Linked DNA regions of Homo sapiens: all the other regions are linked to region 3. Evidence: promoter capture Hi-C in 16 types of primary human blood cells and fetal thymus (Javierre and others, 2016). All regions are on one chromosome and are shown on one strand. Each heading gives the region's core, a stretch centred on a gene start or on the middle of the fragment in contact. The rest is flanking DNA. Distances are from core to core; before and after follow the strand shown. Region 1 has its middle 42 kb from the start of LINC02105. Region 2 has its middle 1.9 kb from the start of LINC02105. Region 3 holds the start of FST (follistatin). Region 4 overlaps ARL15 (ARF like GTPase 15). Region 5 overlaps ARL15 (ARF like GTPase 15). Region 6 has its middle 62 kb from the start of LINC02105.

The links. Contacts are between HindIII fragments. The CHiCAGO score rates a contact against its expected background, and 5 or more counts as called.
Region 1: a contact is called between a fragment that was not itself captured here and the fragment with the promoter of FST in region 3, in 2 of 17 cell types (megakaryocytes and endothelial precursors). The highest score is 9.4, in megakaryocytes.
Region 2: a contact is called between a fragment that was not itself captured here and the fragment with the promoter of FST in region 3, in 2 of 17 cell types (megakaryocytes and erythroblasts). The highest score is 6.7, in megakaryocytes.
Region 4: a fragment that was not itself captured here is called in contact with the fragment with the promoter of FST in region 3 in 3 of 17 cell types (M2 macrophages, megakaryocytes and M1 macrophages); the score reaches 7.6 in M2 macrophages.
Region 5: a fragment that was not itself captured here is called in contact with the fragment with the promoter of FST in region 3 in 1 of 17 cell types (endothelial precursors); the score reaches 5.2 in endothelial precursors.
Region 6: a contact is called between a fragment that was not itself captured here and the fragment with the promoter of FST in region 3, in 6 of 17 cell types (megakaryocytes, M2 macrophages, M0 macrophages and 3 more). The highest score is 10.8, in megakaryocytes.

The regions. Positions count from the first base shown.
Region 1 is chr5:53,859,884-53,862,583 of GRCh38, forward strand. It overlaps the pseudogene ASS1P9. Among named protein-coding and RNA genes, the nearest start is that of LINC02105, 42 kb to the left of the region's middle. RefSeq lists a silencer at 1,903-2,111. The HindIII fragment of the contact is 607 bases long and covers 1,012-1,618 here.
Region 2 is chr5:53,820,189-53,822,888 of GRCh38, forward strand. No RefSeq gene overlaps it. Among named protein-coding and RNA genes, the nearest start is that of LINC02105, 1.9 kb to the left of the region's middle. The HindIII fragment of the contact is 673 bases long and covers 1,057-1,729 here.
Region 3 is chr5:53,479,275-53,481,974 of GRCh38, forward strand. FST (follistatin) reads left to right here and starts at 1,355. Exons shown (of 6, transcript NM_013409.3): 1 at 1,355-1,602. The coding sequence starts at 1,518. RefSeq lists an enhancer at 2,588-2,657. The HindIII fragment of the contact is 5,217 bases long and covers 1-2,360 here.
Region 4 is chr5:53,939,699-53,942,398 of GRCh38, forward strand. All of the region lies in intron 4 of ARL15 (ARF like GTPase 15), which reads right to left. Among named protein-coding and RNA genes, the nearest start is that of MIR581, 11 kb to the right of the region's middle. The HindIII fragment of the contact is 222 bases long and covers 1,268-1,489 here.
Region 5 is chr5:53,921,042-53,923,741 of GRCh38, forward strand. All of the region lies in intron 4 of ARL15 (ARF like GTPase 15), which reads right to left. Among named protein-coding and RNA genes, the nearest start is that of MIR581, 29 kb to the right of the region's middle. The HindIII fragment of the contact is 2,420 bases long and covers 61-2,480 here.
Region 6 is chr5:53,880,772-53,883,471 of GRCh38, forward strand. No RefSeq gene overlaps it. Among named protein-coding and RNA genes, the nearest start is that of LINC02105, 62 kb to the left of the region's middle. RefSeq lists an enhancer at 1,431-2,630. The HindIII fragment of the contact is 1,176 bases long and covers 665-1,840 here.

The sequences.
Region 1 (2,700 bases), core at 65-2,564, 380 kb after region 3:
GCACCACCCACCAGACCTCATTGGAGCTCTTCATGTACCTGAACGAAGTCGTGGGCAAGCAGGGTGTGGGCTGTATTGACATCATGGAGAACCGCTTCATTGGAATGAAGTCCCGAGGGATCTACCAGGCCCCAGCAAGCACCATCCTTTACCTCGCTCATTTAGACACCAAGGCCTTCACCATGGGCCAGGAAGTGCGCAAAATCAAACAAGGCCTGGGCTTGAAATTTGTTGAGCTGGTGGATACCGGTTTCTGGTACAGCCCTGAGTGTGAATTTGTCTGCCACTGCATCGCCAAGTCCCAGGAGCAAGTGGAAGGGAAAGTGCAGGTGTCCGTCCTCGAGGGCCAGGTGTACATCCTTGGCCAGGAGTCCCCACTGTCTCTCTACAAGGAGGAGCCGGTGAGCATGAACGTGCAGGGTGATTATCAGTCAATTGATGCCACCGGGTTCATCAACATCAATTCCCTCAGGCTGAAGGAATATCATCGTCTCCAGAGCAAGGTCACTGCCAAATAGCCCCCTGTACAATGAGGAGCTGGGGCCTCCTTAATTTGCTGATCCCCCAAGTACAGGAGCTAATTGTTGTGATAATTTGTAATTGTGACTTGTTCTCCTCGGCTGGCAGCGTAGTGGGGCTGCCAGGCCCCAGCTTTGTTCTCTGGTCCCCCTGAAGCCTGCAAACGTTGTCATCAAAGGGAAGGGTGGGGGGCAGCTGTGGTGGGGAGCTATAAAATGACAATTAAAAGATTTAAAAAAAAAAACCTGTGAGTTCCTTTTATACAGTGTTTTCACCATTCTGGTAAGAACCTGAAACTCAAGTGCATTTGTGAGCTACAAAATATAAACTATGTTATTTTGGCAATTTTATATAAAAGGTAGCTTTTATATTTGCATTTAAAAATGGCCTTGTACATTATAAAAATGAATGGTAAAATTTCAAGTTTAAATTTTTCTTTACTTAGAAAGATAGTAAATTGCAAATAAAAAACACCGTGGCAAGTTGAAAACAAGCTTTTTACATAGAATAAAGGAAAAAACTTTATATTTTGGTACTTTCAGGAGTACTGGTTTTTGAATAAAGGACTGAATTTTCATTTTGCTCTGGACTCCATGAATGATGTAGTCAGCCCTAGTCAGAAGATGTTTTGCTGGGAGAATCAACAGGACTTTGTGATTCACCGTAAGAAACAATGTAGCAGTCAGGTAGTATGTTTTATGCTTCCAACACCACAGCAATAGCACATCTTGCAACAGCTTAACTGAAGCCTCTGTTTAGAGTAAATAGCACAATTTTACTATATGTTCTTTTTTTAAAATTGAGGTAAATACACATAATATAAAATTTACCCTCTTAACAATCTTTAAGTGTACATTTCAGTAATGTTAAGTATATTCACATTGTTGTGCACCCAATCTCTAAAACATTTTCATCTTGCAAAACTGAAACTCTCTACCCATTAAACAAAAACTGCCCATTTTACCACCCTTCCCATCCCCTGGCAACCACCATTCTACTTTCTATTTCTATGAGTTTGACTATTCTGGATAGCTCATATAAGTGGAATTATATAGCATGTGTCTTTTTGTGGCTTATTTCACTTAGCGTAATGTTACCAAGCTTCATCCATCTTGTAGCATGGTCCTTTTTAAAGGCTAAATGATATTCCACCATGTATATATACTACATTCTGTTTCTTCATTCATATGTCAATGCTCCCAGCTTAATAAACTCAATAAACTCACTTGTAATTACAGTCAAAACTTGCCTCAATTGCTTCTGACTTTCTACAAGAAATTTAAGGTGATTTACAGAAACTCCAATAAAATGTAGTAAGTGAAGGATTCAGGACAAATGGAAAATGTGTATAACAAAACAGTAAAGCCAGGATCCAGTGAAAATTTGGCTGAAAAGGTTTCTAAAAATCATGTATCCACAAAGTGGCTAGATTGACCTAGAGCTACTAATTCTCACCGAGGGTGTCCCAAAATATTTTTTTTTTCAGACTGAGTCTCTCTCTGTTGCCCAGCCTGGAGTACAGTGGTGCAATCTCGGCTCACTGCAAACTCCACCTCCTAAGTTCAAGGGATCCTCCTGCCTCAGCCTCCCAAGTAGCTGGGACTGCAGACGTGTGCCACCACGGCCAGCTGATTTTTGTATTTTTAATAGAGACGAGGTTTCACCATGTTGGCCAGGCTGGTCTCGAACTCTTGACCTCAGGTGATCTGCCTGCCTCAGCCTCCCAAAGTGCTGGGATTACAGGTGTGAGCCACTGCGCCCGGCCTAGTGTCCCTAATTTTTTAATGTCATTTTCCATCACATACAGAAAATGATGATAATTGCATGGCATATAGGAGTAATGAGGCTGCTCTCCACCTATGGGAGCTGGCCCCAGACTGCACCCCTATACTCTGAGGACTGAAGGAACTGGCATCTCAGGAGTATGACCTGATCCTAGCATGCCAGTGGCTGTCACTTATGGTGTGGGAAGCTATTGCAGCTTATCCCCTTGGAGGGGCCTTGCTGTCACACCGTTGTACATATTTCAATTGTCCATAAATGGCCCAAAATGTCATATTTCTATCTCCAGCAACGAAACTGTGGAGCAGTGGAAAGCACCCAGGCTTTGGAGTTCAAAAGAGTGTAGGTGTTTCTGTTTCTGTCACTTACTAGCTATGTGACAAATACCAGACTAGATAC
Region 2 (2,700 bases), core at 143-2,642, 340 kb after region 3:
TGCTAAATGGAACTGTGGCTGAGGGGAGGAAGGGAGGGAGGGAGACTGGTGCCCACAGAGCAGGGAGGGCTTGAGGTTCACAGTGGATACATTGCTGACATTAAGCCAAGACCCAGCTAATTGCCTATGATTGTTTTCTCTTTTCACATTTACTCATCTAAGCTGGGGATGTCTCCCAGGCACCACAGATATAATTAGAGTTGGGTTTCTGTGTCTCTCAGACTTGGGCTCCTCTTTAAAAAGTTAGCAGAAATATAGAAATCTTTGGTTTTAAAAATATTCAAATGATTTTCTAGAAGCATCCTCAAAGTCAATAGATGTAAGTTTCATAGCAACTTATTTTCTAAAAATGAAAACAGAAAGTGGAAAGTCAGTACCATGAGGGGTGCAGAAAAATGGAAGCTAAGTAACTGTTCTATATAATTAATTGCATAAGGTATGGCTGTTTTCATTACCAAGTAGCCCTGAAGCCCCTTTAAGCTAATTAATGCAGCTAGAAGCAGTCAGGGATGTAGTAAGGGAAGTGAGATCTGCCTGATCCATTGCTATAAACAGGCCCTGTATTAGGACTTACGTATTTGTTTTCTTTTATTCCTCTGAACAAAAATACTTAAACTGTAAGTGGGGACTTTTCACAGCACAAAACTTGCATCATATGTTTAAAAGCTGTGGCAAAGTCATCTTTCGGCAGAAGTTGTGTAGCCTTAAACAAATCATGCCCTGGTGTGCGTCCTTCAGTAGAGGGATGGTTCTCAGGTTTACCATATGGTGCATGCAGTCAGTCTCATGACTCATTTTGGACTTGGCACTGGGAAGGGTTCAGAAAGGTGCAGAACATGCAAATGGCTTTGAGGATGAGTGCTCACTCCCCAGTAAGGGGATATCCCCGCCTGCATACAAATAGTCCAGGCCACTGTTTTCCAAACATAACAAACCTACAATGCTGTACCCTCTAGAAACTTCTGGATGCTCAGCAGTTCACCTCCTGGTTTAGTCCAAAACATTATGTCCAAAACATAATCTCTTTTTGAAGGACATTTAAGAAAATGCATTTTAAGCTTCACATTGGTCTCTTGATTTGTAATGACTTTCTCAAATATGTTTGAGAGGAGATGAAAGGAATTTTAAACTAGGTGGATTTCACAAAGTGAATTGGCTTCATCTGTGTACTCATGAAAACCATGAGCTTGAAAAGATCCTAAATGTCAACCAAAACACCACTGCAGATATGGAAGATCCACTGCAGATATGGAAACCCACATGGGCATACAACCTATTCTGGAACAGGCCTGAAATAGCTCAACTTCACGGAGTGCTTCAAAGCACTGCTGCAATTTTCTAAAAGTCTTTTGGTTAAGTAACAATGCTAAAGAAAAATAGAATTTTCCATGAACAGAAAAATAATGTTCAAGTTTATATCAGAGCAGGAATCAGCTTTTCTTTTCTGTGAATAACATTTGGGCCTGAAGCCAATAAATGTACCATTTGCATCCTGGTTTACATACACACACACACACACACACACACACACACACACACACACACACACACGGGGGAGGGTTTCTTACCCTGAGTATGAATCCCACTGGCTTGTCTTCAGAATGCAAACTGTAGGTCTAAGAAGTCATATGGTTTAATTTCAAGAACCTACTCAGGATTTGTCCGGGATGTAATGTACATGTTTCCCTAATCCTGTTTGGTTTTGCTAATATATATAATGATATCTTTAAGCTTGTGCCTAAGCTATGCCCACCACTGGGGGTCCAGTGAACAGCTAGGGCAGCCTAACCAAGCCAACGTGCGTAAGAACTGTGGACCCTATAGGATGAGTGAAGGGATCAAGGATCAGGAAGAGTTTGCCTCAGTCAGAAAAATCCTAGTTGTAGAATGGGAAGGAGGAATGTTGGACCACATACTGCTTTTATTTTATGACATTCCCCAACTGGACTCAGGTCTCACTTCTGGAGAAAATTGGCTGATGGTTAAACACTGAAAGAGCTCTATGTGGTGGGCATTTGTTGCTTTGTTTGCCTGGAACAGCACTGTCCTCTTTTTAGTAGGATTCTGATGGGGCTGCCAACCATAGTTCCTAATGCTTTGGCCACAGTGAATGGTCCAGTGATGGGCATACGACCGAACCATAGTCAATAGGCTCTTTCCTAAGATATTCCCTTTAAGAGCCCTCTGAGTTTTGTGGTTCTGAAGCTTTGAGGATGTAGGCCTAGGACTGGTGTTAGTGTTGAAGCTTCCAGCTTCATAGGGGCAAGTCTAAGGGAATAAGTTTAACACAGAGAAACAGAGACAAAACAACAACAACAACAAAAAAAGGAAACGAAGAGAGAAGAAGTGAGTTCTCTAACACTTGAGATTCTGAATCCAGTGGTTGCTGAAACGCTCTACCCACTGCCTTTTCCCTACTTTGGTTATATCAATCAATCAATAGCCTTCCCTTTGGTTAATTTAGGTTTCTAAATTTAAAATTGGGTTTCTCTGCCCCTGTATAAAATGTTGAGAACACAAACTGTGCCATTTGGGAGCTTCTCTAACAGAGGATTCACAAAAACCTCCTTGCCTCTGACTATTGTAAAACTTATGCTTCTCTGAGAATAAAAGAGGGTGCTATTAACAATTAACAATTATATGAGGACAACGGGCATAAGCTAGAAATATATGGCCACCCTTAGTGAAGGATCAAACTTG
Region 3 (2,700 bases), core at 105-2,604:
ACAAATCCCAGTGACCTGCGAATGTCCAAGAATTTTGTCTGCATACTTCGCTATCTGTTGTCCTTCGGGCTTCAGATGCGAAAAGAACAAATTTAAAAGGCAGCTTTGGAATAAACAATATAGCATTTTCCGTGAAGTAATCGTTTTATATAAAAGGAAATATCGCCTCCTCAGTTTCATTCAGCGGTGCCAAAAATGTTATAAATGAGAGACCCGCCAACTTTCAGCGAAGAATGCCAGGCACTGTACTTAATAAACTGAGGCTACAGAAGTTCATTATGGATGTTGCAATCTTTTTTATTCCGCGAAAAGAGAGAAGACGAGACAGAAAGAGAGAGAGATTGGAGCCGAGGAGACTGAGAGACAGACAGAGGCACACAGGACAGAAACTGGGGAGTCTCCAGGCGGGAGAGGAAGGGGGGGCCAGACCGCCTACGTCGGCGCCCCCGCTCCGGGCTCCGACTCCAGACGCCGCGAAGTGAAAGGGGAGAAAAGAAAGGGAGAGGGCGAGGCTGTGCCGCGGGGAGACCGGGCCTGAGGTGTTAAACATTTTTGTTTGCTTCCGACTAGTCCAGACGAAGGGCCGCGTCTCGGTAGCGCTCTGCCAGGGTGGAAGGTGCCGGGGCCGGGGTTCCTAGCAACACCTCTGGGCTGGGGGTGGCTGCAAAGTCAGGCACTCACAGACCCAGACACAAAACCTCGCGGGTCCCGCGCCCAGGCTGCGGGTGCCCGGAACCGCCGCGAGGCCGGCGCGCTCCGACCCGACCCGGGGCGGGATATTTGGGCAGCCCGGGGCTCTTCGGCCGTTTGCAAAAGTCTCTTTGGAGCGGAGGAGAGGCAGCACGGAGACAAACTCCCGGGTTCCCCCCGCCACCGCCTCCAGCGCCCCCACCGCGCCCTCCCTCTCACACTCGCGCGCGCGCGCACACACACTCACACACACACTCACACACACACCCGCCACCCCGGGCGCGCCGGCGCTGCCGGCGAGCGGCGGCGAGCAGGACTTGAAGTGGGTGTTCTTCCCCACTCCCCACCCCCGACGCGTAGCCCCCAACCCCCGCCCCGGTCGCCTTCCCCCTCCCTCTCGCTCCTACGCAAATAAGAACTCGACGATTCCCTTCCAGCCGTTTTGATTTCGGGCACCTCCGAAAGATAATTGGGAAGGGTTTCCAGAAGGTGGGAAATGTCACCTGATTCACACTGAACTTTTGAAAGCTCCCCACCCCCAAGGAGCCGCGCACACCCTCGCTCGCGGCCGCCCTCCCACAGCCCCACACACTGGGAGACCGCCCACCGCAAACCGCGGAGACCCCCGTCTAGATTTAAAGCGCGGCTGCGCCCGGCTTCTGACGTCCATTGAATCGCGCGGGCGGCCGGCGGCGAGCGCGGGGCTGCGCCGGGATCGCTGCGCCCTCCGCCGCTGGCCTCTGCGACGCGCGCCGCTCGCCCGAGCCACCCGCCGCCGCGCCGGCTCCCCGCGCCGCTGCGCTCCTCGCCCCGCGCCTGCCCCCAGGATGGTCCGCGCGAGGCACCAGCCGGGTGGGCTTTGCCTCCTGCTGCTGCTGCTCTGCCAGTTCATGGAGGACCGCAGTGCCCAGGGTAAGCGAGTGGGGATGCGCTGGGGAGGCTTGGCTGAGGACAGGGGGGTCGACTTTTCTGTGGTCTCCACTTGGTCTGTTCTGAGCAACGCTGCTCTCGGAAGATGTTGAACCAACTTGGGGACTCCGGGATGGAGAGGAGTGGGAAAATTGTAGGCAATGACACTTTAGGACTGGGAACTGAGTTTGGAGCTCGGTTATCTTGAAAAAGGAAAGGGAGCGAGCTGGGGTCTTAGTAGTTAGGGTTAAATGCTCCAAGTTCTGGCCATGATAACTTTAGATGTGATCTCCTCTGTTTGGCTCTGAAGAAGGGAACAAGTATCAGTAGTAGCCTGGAGATTTCAGTCGACCCATTTGCAGTCTCATCTCTCTCCCTCCCACATCTTTTGGATACTTAAAAAAAAAAAAGGAAAGAAAGAAAAGAAAACCTGGGGGTTTGGGGGAGAGATACTGAATTTTATTTGGTGGCTGGGGGACGTGGTTTCAGAAACTTTGCCCAAACTTGGAAATGTGGGTGCTGAAGATTTTCAAGGGAAGTAGCTTTCTGCCTAGTGGATGCTTCTTCCAACCCCATCCCCCATTCTCGCAAAAAAAAAAAAAAAAAAAAAAAAGCCAAATTATTACCCCAAAGTGCTTTGAGCACTTTACAGTTTTTTTCCCCTCTGCCTCATTCTTCTTTCTGACCCTTAGCTTTCTGTAAAACAGTGAGCAGCCCATAACTGACTTAAATTCTGAAATGGGTTAAGAGCAAATTTCTGAAGCTTGCCTTTTAAAAATAGATTTGTTTATTTCAATTAGTCTTTGGGCAGAATGTTTAAAATAATAATAGCAGCTTGCGATCCAATGATTGTTAAAGTCATATTGGTGATTCATGAGAAGTCTTCTCGACCCAAATCCGAACATTAAAAAGGGGGAAGAGGGAGAAATCACTTGCAAATATTTCTTGCTAGGTATGAGATAGGTACTTATAACCGTGAAATGGTAGGAAGACTCCCCCCTCCCCCCACCTTAAGGCATTACTTTCCCTGCTTCAGCGTTAACATTTTAAGTATGTTGTAAACTGCCCTCCTGGGCACTGCCCCTCGCCGTCTGCATGGCA
Region 4 (2,700 bases), core at 129-2,628, 460 kb after region 3:
CACTCCAGCCTGGAGATAAAGCGAGACTCCGTCTCAAAAAAAAATAAAATAAAATAAAGAAAGAAAGAAAAAGAAAGTTAGCTGCTACATCACTCACTATTCCAATGTTCCTTACATTTGAAATCTGTAGATTAATAATCATAAAAGAATAAAATTAAACACTGATTCAAACAAATATGAACAGACGTTTGTAACTTAGGTGTTATCCAGAAAAAACAACAACAACAACAACAACAACAACAAACAACTTTGATTTTTGCTTGAAAATAAAGTCCTGAACTTTTTTTTTTTTTTTTTTGAGACGGAGCCTCGCTCTGTCGCCCAGGCTGGAGTGCAGAGGCGCGATCTCGGCTCACTGCAAGCTCCGCCTCCCTGGTTCACGCCATTCTCCTGCCTCAGCCTCCCGAGTAGCTGGGACTACAGGTGCCTGCCACGGCTAATTTTTCTGGTATTTTTAGTAGAGACGGGGTTTCACCGTGTTAGCCAGGATGGTCTTGATCTCCTGACCCCGTCATCCGCCCACCTTGGCCTCCCAAAGTGCTGGGATTACAGGCGTGAACCACCGCGCCCGGCAGTCCTGAAGTTTTAAAACTAGACCAACCAGTGCTATGATACTGCTTAATTCCCATAGGCATGTAGCAAATTTGTATTTTCTTCATTTGCTGAAAGAAAAAAGAAAAACACCATAACCTTTTGTCTCTACCTTTGAGCAATTTAATAAAATTAAACTTTGAAAGAGATTAAGAGTAGTAATCAAAGTTCCAAATATAGCTAAGAAAAAGCTAACTACTCTGGTGGAAGTTACGTATATTTGAAGCATTTTTCCTCAATATAACATGGAATTAATAGGAATTCACTCATTATGCATGTTCTAGTATAACCTTAAATGCCCACAGGTTATTCCTAATTTTCTGGAGAAATAAAAGTCACATGGCATTTTTCTATGCTTAAACAGAGAACAATTATGGATTTTTTAAGAAGGGAGAGAAGGAAACATGCATACTTCACTTATGCCCATAACTTCTAGAGCTTTTATGTTTCATATGAAAAACAGAAAATACATTTCTAATGTGTCATCAATTCTTTTGAACTTCTAATAATTTGAATGTACATTTTATAGCAAATAGCTTAATGATCACATCATGCAGCTGACTTAATTCTCAAAATGTCTTTGTAGTTTTATTATTCTGTAAAAGCAAACTGTTTCACCAAAAATTGTACTAGGTCAAGCTTTTACAAGAAAAATATTTATTATATTGTCCATTAAAGCTTACCAATTAATTACCAAGTTTAGTCAATGGGGTTCCTTTGAACTGCCTGTGAGATGAGTATTTTATTACTTATTATTATAATAATGAGTAGATTTGAAAGATTTTTACCTTACAAAATATCAATGGTTTATTTCACAATGTTATTTGTTAAACCAAAGCATTAGTCATTCTCTTCTTCTACTTTTCTCCTTCTTCCCCTTTCCCTTTACTTCTGTATAAGCTTTTTTAATATTTAAGATATGAAGAAATCCAACATTATACATCATTAAACCATGGCCAAATTCACAATAAAATGTGCCTGCAATCCTTTAAAAAAAGGATTATGTATACAGAACTACGTGGAAAACTTGCTGTTCTCAGAAAAGAACAGAATGAAACAGATAATAAATAAATTTCTATATCCAAGGTAGATCTTTCTTTTTACAGGAGGTCGGGTAAGTTCATACAGAAAAACTCTACAGAATGGGCCTGTCGTTAAAAATAAACGAAGCAAGGATTATTGGGTTTAGATCATTTTCTTAAGAATCAAAAAAGTTTTTCTAGGGCTTTGGCTAAGTACATGAAGATAAATGATGCCCAATTCTGGTTTTGCCAAATAACACAAGTCTTTTCAGAAACTACAAATTCCAGTGGCTCTGGCAGAATGAATATCAACCTAGGTCAGTTCTCCATAACCAGAACCCACAAATTTGCCAGTCCACTTCACATCTCAACTATTAGATAATAGCAGGCAAGATGCATGTTCCTGGTGGGCACAGTTGTTTATGTGGTGATTCTTCTTTGAGTTGTTGGTGTTTTCTCGCTTTCTTCCCTCCCTTCCTCCCTTTCCTCCCCTCCCCTCCACCTAATAGAGGGCCCACCTCTCTACAGGGTGCTCACCTCTAACTGTCTCCAGCAGTAGAAAAGGAAGTCAGAAAGCTAAGCAAGGCCTGGGTCAGGAGAGCTATTTATTTTCATGATGAGAAACCACCGCAGGGCTCTGGGAAGGGAAGTGGCACAGTCTGATTTATCTATTTAAAAAATCCATGTAAAGAGTATGGGGCGGGCAGGGGCAAGAATGGAAGCAGAGATGCCAGGTAGGAAGCAATTACAAGAATCCAGAGAGGAATGGTTGCAGGTTGCTTGGACTAGGGTGGTAATACTGTAGGTTCAGGATATATTTTGAAGATAAAGGCAACTGGTCTTGCTCATGTGGGCACTGAGAGAAACTGGGGCCAGGGAACTAGGTAAATTGTGGGGTGGGTGGGGAAGAGAGGGAAGGATGCTACTTTGACTGAGATGGAAAACAATGGGGGAGAAGTTGGGTTTGAGTTGTGTGGGGGCTTCAGGAATCTTTTGACCTTAAATGTAAGATGGCATCAGACATACCAGTGGCACTAGAAGCTGTGGAAGCACAGGAATAATCTAGAAATCGGTTGAGAGCTTTGGC
Region 5 (2,700 bases), core at 21-2,520, 440 kb after region 3:
GCCCCCACTGACCATATTGCACTGTGAGGTGACCTACAGTGGCAAGACATCGAGAATGTAAGCTTTATAGCAACTGTATTACTCTAATACAGAAACATTTCATCACTTAATTCTCATTACGGCTCTGTCAGGTAATGTATTATCACCTGCATTTAACTCATATAGGAACAGAGGCTCAGAGAGGTAAGTCACTTGTTCAAGAGCAAGCAGCTAACAGGTGAAGAAACTGACATTCTGCCCTTGGTCAGTGAAACTTTAGGACCCATGTTCTTACCTATGGGTATACTGTCCCCCCTATAGCTATTGTAAGTATGTAAGTACAAAAACCTATGTGTTAGACATTTCCCCTTTTAACCTTGAACTTATGTTCCAGTAATAGAAACATTTTATTTTCCCATTAATTATGTGGAGAATAGTAAAAATTAACATGAACTAATTTTTGCAGATGATTTCACTCAGGGAGTGACAGAATAATGCGTATAAAACACTAAAAGCACAAGGCAGGTGGATCACTTGAGGTCAGGAGTTCAAGACCAGCCTGGCCAACATGGCAAAACCTGTCTCTACTAAAAATACAAAACTTAGCTGGGTGTGGTGGAGTGCGCCAGTAGTCCCAGCTACTTGGGAGGCTGAGGTGGGAGGATTACTTGAACCCAGGAGGCGGATGTTGCAGTGAGCCGAGATTGTGCCACTGCACTCCAGCCTGGGTGACAGAGAGAGACCCTGTCTCAAAACAAAACAAAACAAAAAATCATTAAAAGCAGACTGCTCTGACTAAAGCAAGGCTGGGGTTACCAGGAATGAGCAGTTTGACAATCACTATGTGCCATCATATTGATTCTCAACACTGAGCTATTCAGATTTCTTTCCCTTTTAAAACAAAAAATGTCTAATTCAGTTCTAGAATTCAGTTTTGCAGACATACCAGAGCTATGCACTGAAAGTTAATGTACACCTTGAAAGCAATATGTACCTTAGTGACAAGGTATATCCATCAATATCTGCTCATCAAACTACTTCCTGTTTTACTTAACTTGTAGTGTAGCACCATGTGTTTTGTCAGTTAATTACTGACCCTCAGCTGGCAGCCACTTGGTAATGAAAAGACTGTCTTCTGGTATGCCTTAGTTTGTGTTTCTGGTATGGCCATCTCAGCTTCCATTCTCTCCTTTAAGTCTGAAGTCTACATTCAGTTCCGTTTAGTTCAATTAACATTCACTGTTCCCTTGCCTGTGTTTAGTAACGAGGATACAAACAAGATTCAGGCCTGGTCTCTGCCCTAGGACCAGGAGAAGAATCCAATAGTTCACCGTAAAAGGATCACTGTACCAGTTCATTTAGTCTTTGAATGTCTTCTTATTTTTTAAATGACAATGACTGTATCAGCTTTGAGGCATCATTCTTGAATGTCCCCTAACTTTCTGTGTAGATAATGTTTAGTACAAGAGGAACATTTAAGATATTAAAGATGGAGTATGTCATGGACACTAACCAACCAGAATGAACGTTGGTGGCAGTGCTGTAGTGCAGTTCTAGAGGCTCTCTACCAAGCCAGGAATTACTGCTTTGGTTGTGAAATTGTGGAGCAGCCCAAGAGGTCCCAGCGGGGAGGAAACAGGTGGCATTCAAATGGATAGGCCAGTACGTCAATATTTTAACAAGTGGTACATCTGTAGTGATGTATTGATGGAATATTGCTTGACTTGTGAACAACAGCTCCATAGGAAAAGGACAGCCACTTTTCCATCTGTGCTGACAACTGAGCTGTGTAGATCCTGAACCAGAAACACAAGAGAAAAACAATCTGAAAACTGTCTATTCCCCTGGGGACTTTCACTTTCCTTTATGAGCATTTCAAGTAGAGCAGCACTCCATAAATGCTGCTGACTGACTGACATTTATTGAATAACCAGTGTATACAGAGCATGTTCTGAGAAACTTATACAGAAAACAGAAGTGACCTATACACGCTTTCATTTATTTTGATGATTAATTTTTAAAAAGTGGCCTTTCTGAGGCAAGTCTATAATCTACACCCTAAAGAAGTCTTCTCAAGTGACAGGGAACTTCAAACTCAGGGCAAGCAAGTTTTGGAGAATGACTGCCTCTTCACGATTCGGGCTCTGGTCTTCAATGGCTGCCATTGGTAAGGGTGAGTCAGGATGGAACTCCTGAAACTCAAAACAAACAAACAATCACCTCCCACACCAGAAACAAAGTCCTTTTGCCTCTCCAACTTGAAACACAAGTTTGTATTTGTGGTCTGATTTTTGCTAAGATCATAAAACTTTACATCTGCATAAAATATGACGCAGTTGCTTCAGAAGGGCAGGCTGTTCCCTGTCCCCACCCCACTGCCTCCTTGTCGGTGAAGGGCTACTTGGTAAAATGATCTTTGAGTTCTAGAGATGAATTATACATCCTGTATAATTGCTGGATGTTGTCAGATGCACAAATATAATAGGTTGTCAAATGCACAAAGCTTTCTCAAATAAGCATGATTTACCTAAAGGCATCTCCTTTACTAGTAACCTAAACTGATTCTTTTCAACCTAAATGAAATTCTTTCGGTTCTGGTATATTCTTGAGCATGTCAAAATAAAAATCTCATAATATTTAAAAAACTTATCAAGTTTTATTTTTTAAACAATACATTTTTAAAAACCTGATTATATTAGCCAGGCGTGGTGGCGGGCGCCC
Region 6 (2,700 bases), core at 3-2,502, 400 kb after region 3:
AGAAGGTCCAGAGACAAACCTGACTTGCTCCAGATTACAGAGAATGACAGCTAGACTTACTGTTTGCATTCTTGTCTCTGCCTTTTGGTGAGCCGTTTCCATTCTAACAAAATCTTCTCATTTTTAATATTTATATGTCTAATGATTTAATATCATACCACATCACTCTGGCCTTCAAGGTGCCCTGGACACACATTTTTCTGATTTACCTTTACACAGATTATACGCAAACTGGCCAGAAATCATTCATTTCAACATGAACCTCTCAGGTAAGAATTGTGGTCTTACTTCTCTCTCCAGAAACAGCTTTCTTCACAGACTCTGTTTAAAACCAGCTCCCGGCCGGGCGCGGTGGCTCACGCCTGTAATCCCAGCACTTTGGGAGGCCGAGGCGGGCGGATCACGAGGTCAGGAGATCGAGACCATCCCGGCTAAAACGGTGAAACCCCGTCTCTACTAAAAATACAAAAAATTAGCCGGGCGTAGTGGCGGGCGCCTGTAGTCCCAGCTACTTGGGAGGCTGAGGCAGGAGAATGGCGTGAACCCGGGAGGCGGAGCTTGCAGTGAGCCGAGATCCCGCCACTGCACTCCAGCCTGGGCGACAGAGCGAGACTCCGTCTCAAAAAAAAAAAAAAACCAGCTCCCTCCACCACCATCTTCTGTAAGCTTGTCCAGACATGGGGTACATCATTAGGCCAGGTCTTCCAGTCATTCCCTTGCTTGCAAAGCAATCATTTATAGGCGTTTGGTGCTTTGTCTGACATCTGTTTGATGCTGGAACTCTAGCCTTTGTCTCAATGAATCACTTGTCGGTGAAAGTCCATTGTAGGCTGGATTTCACACTTTCAGGAGGGGTTTGCCTGTGATGGAAGTGATCTTAGGCTTTTTGAAATAACCAGCTCCCTCCGCCTCCCTATATTCCATGAAGAAACAGGAAAATGAGAGAGTCTGGGGAACCTGGTGCTTATTCAAGCCTCATTTTGATTTGTTCCCTTGGGCCTGAGCCAGGTTAGCATCTCTGGGGACTACATTGCCAACTCACCTCCATGGTTGAAATGTTGCTGCTAGAAGAAAACTAGGCTGAAACATTTATGTAGGATTCTTTGAGATCATCAGATAAAAGGAAGAGATTTTTGAAAAAGAAGGAAGGAAAAAGGGAATTCACCATTATCTAGTAGTTAGCAGAAGATCGTTTTTTAAAAGTGTGGTGGAATGGCTGTACCCACGTTGGTCTATGTCTAGCTGGAGCAGTGGGGATAAGGAGTTGGACTGGATTATAAACCTGGCTGAGCCTAGCAAGGCATTACATCTAGAAACCACTTTCTTTATTCTCCCAACAGGGTACAAGTGACTTACAAGGCATATATGGTAAGTGAAGTTTCTTTGAAAGCCACCAGGCCCACACTATTCCCTTGTAGAAAGTGATTATTCATCTAGAATGCCCTGTGGAAATTCCTGTGTGCAGTCAGGACTTGAGAAGTACAGCAAGAAAGGGAAGGGGCAGGCTAAGCCTAAGAACCCTGTAGTTGGCCTTTCTAAACCAGGAGCCAGTGAATACAATATGCTTTGCAGAGCAGAGATGGCATGTGAGATGAGATTATAGAGAAAAATCTGATAGAGAAATCATGGGCTTTGAATTTCTCTTTGTTTCATAAGGAAAGGAAGATGCTAGACAGGGCGTATTGGAGAGATTCTTCTTTGTGACTTTTAACTTCTTTGCTTGGTTTCACAGTAAGTCACATTATGGAGAAGTTGTTACAAACAGATGAAACCCCAGGAAGGGAAGTCAGAATTTCCAGATCTGATGAGACAGTGGGTGGAAGAAAAGTTTGTCATTTAAAGCTTTAATTCAAAGAGAATAGGAAAGGGGAGGAGAAACTGACATCCCATCTGAGGCTTCTAAGGGATCCTTTTCATGTTCCTAAATTAGTACAAGGGGGTGTGGGGTAGGGTGCCAAACCTTGGGCTCATCAGTCACTTCATGCATCTGAGTTGAAAAACATTTAACCCTGAGATGCACATAATTTAAACATGCTGATTCACTGGTGACCAAATGCTGTGAGCCCTTGGGAGCCAGGAATTCCCAACATGATGTGGTAATGCATTTTACAGCATGAACTTCAGATCTCCAGGACCCAGGCTGGGGAACAAGACAGGGACTCTACATTCTAAAGTTTCTGCATAACAAACACAGACCCTCCCTTCCAAATGCATTGAAAATGAGGGATCCCAAAGGGCAACTCCCACTTCCAGCCCCACCACCCTACATACCTTTTCATTTCTGTTTGCGCCATTAGGTCAGGAGGTTAATGAAAATGCACTCTAAAGTTATAAAGAGGATGAAGCCAGGCACGAATATTAGATTTCCATTCAAGTCTGAATATGCAATATGGACATGAAGAAAACCCCATTTGCTTCAAAATCTTACAGTTCTGTTCACATTTACTTGGATAGGACTGAGATGCTTAGGAAGTTGATAACTGCTAATTGCCTACACTAGAAATAAACCTAGGAATGAAGGTTAGATTCCCAGCTTAGAAGTGAAACGTTGCAAGCTCTCTGTGTAGTCAAATACTAAGTGATGATAACGTTGCATTTGGGACCAAGCAAAAGCTGGGATTTAAATTTTTCATCTTCAATTACGTATTTTTTTTCTTTTTCTCTCTTCTTCTATCTATCTACCACTTGATTTTTCTTTCT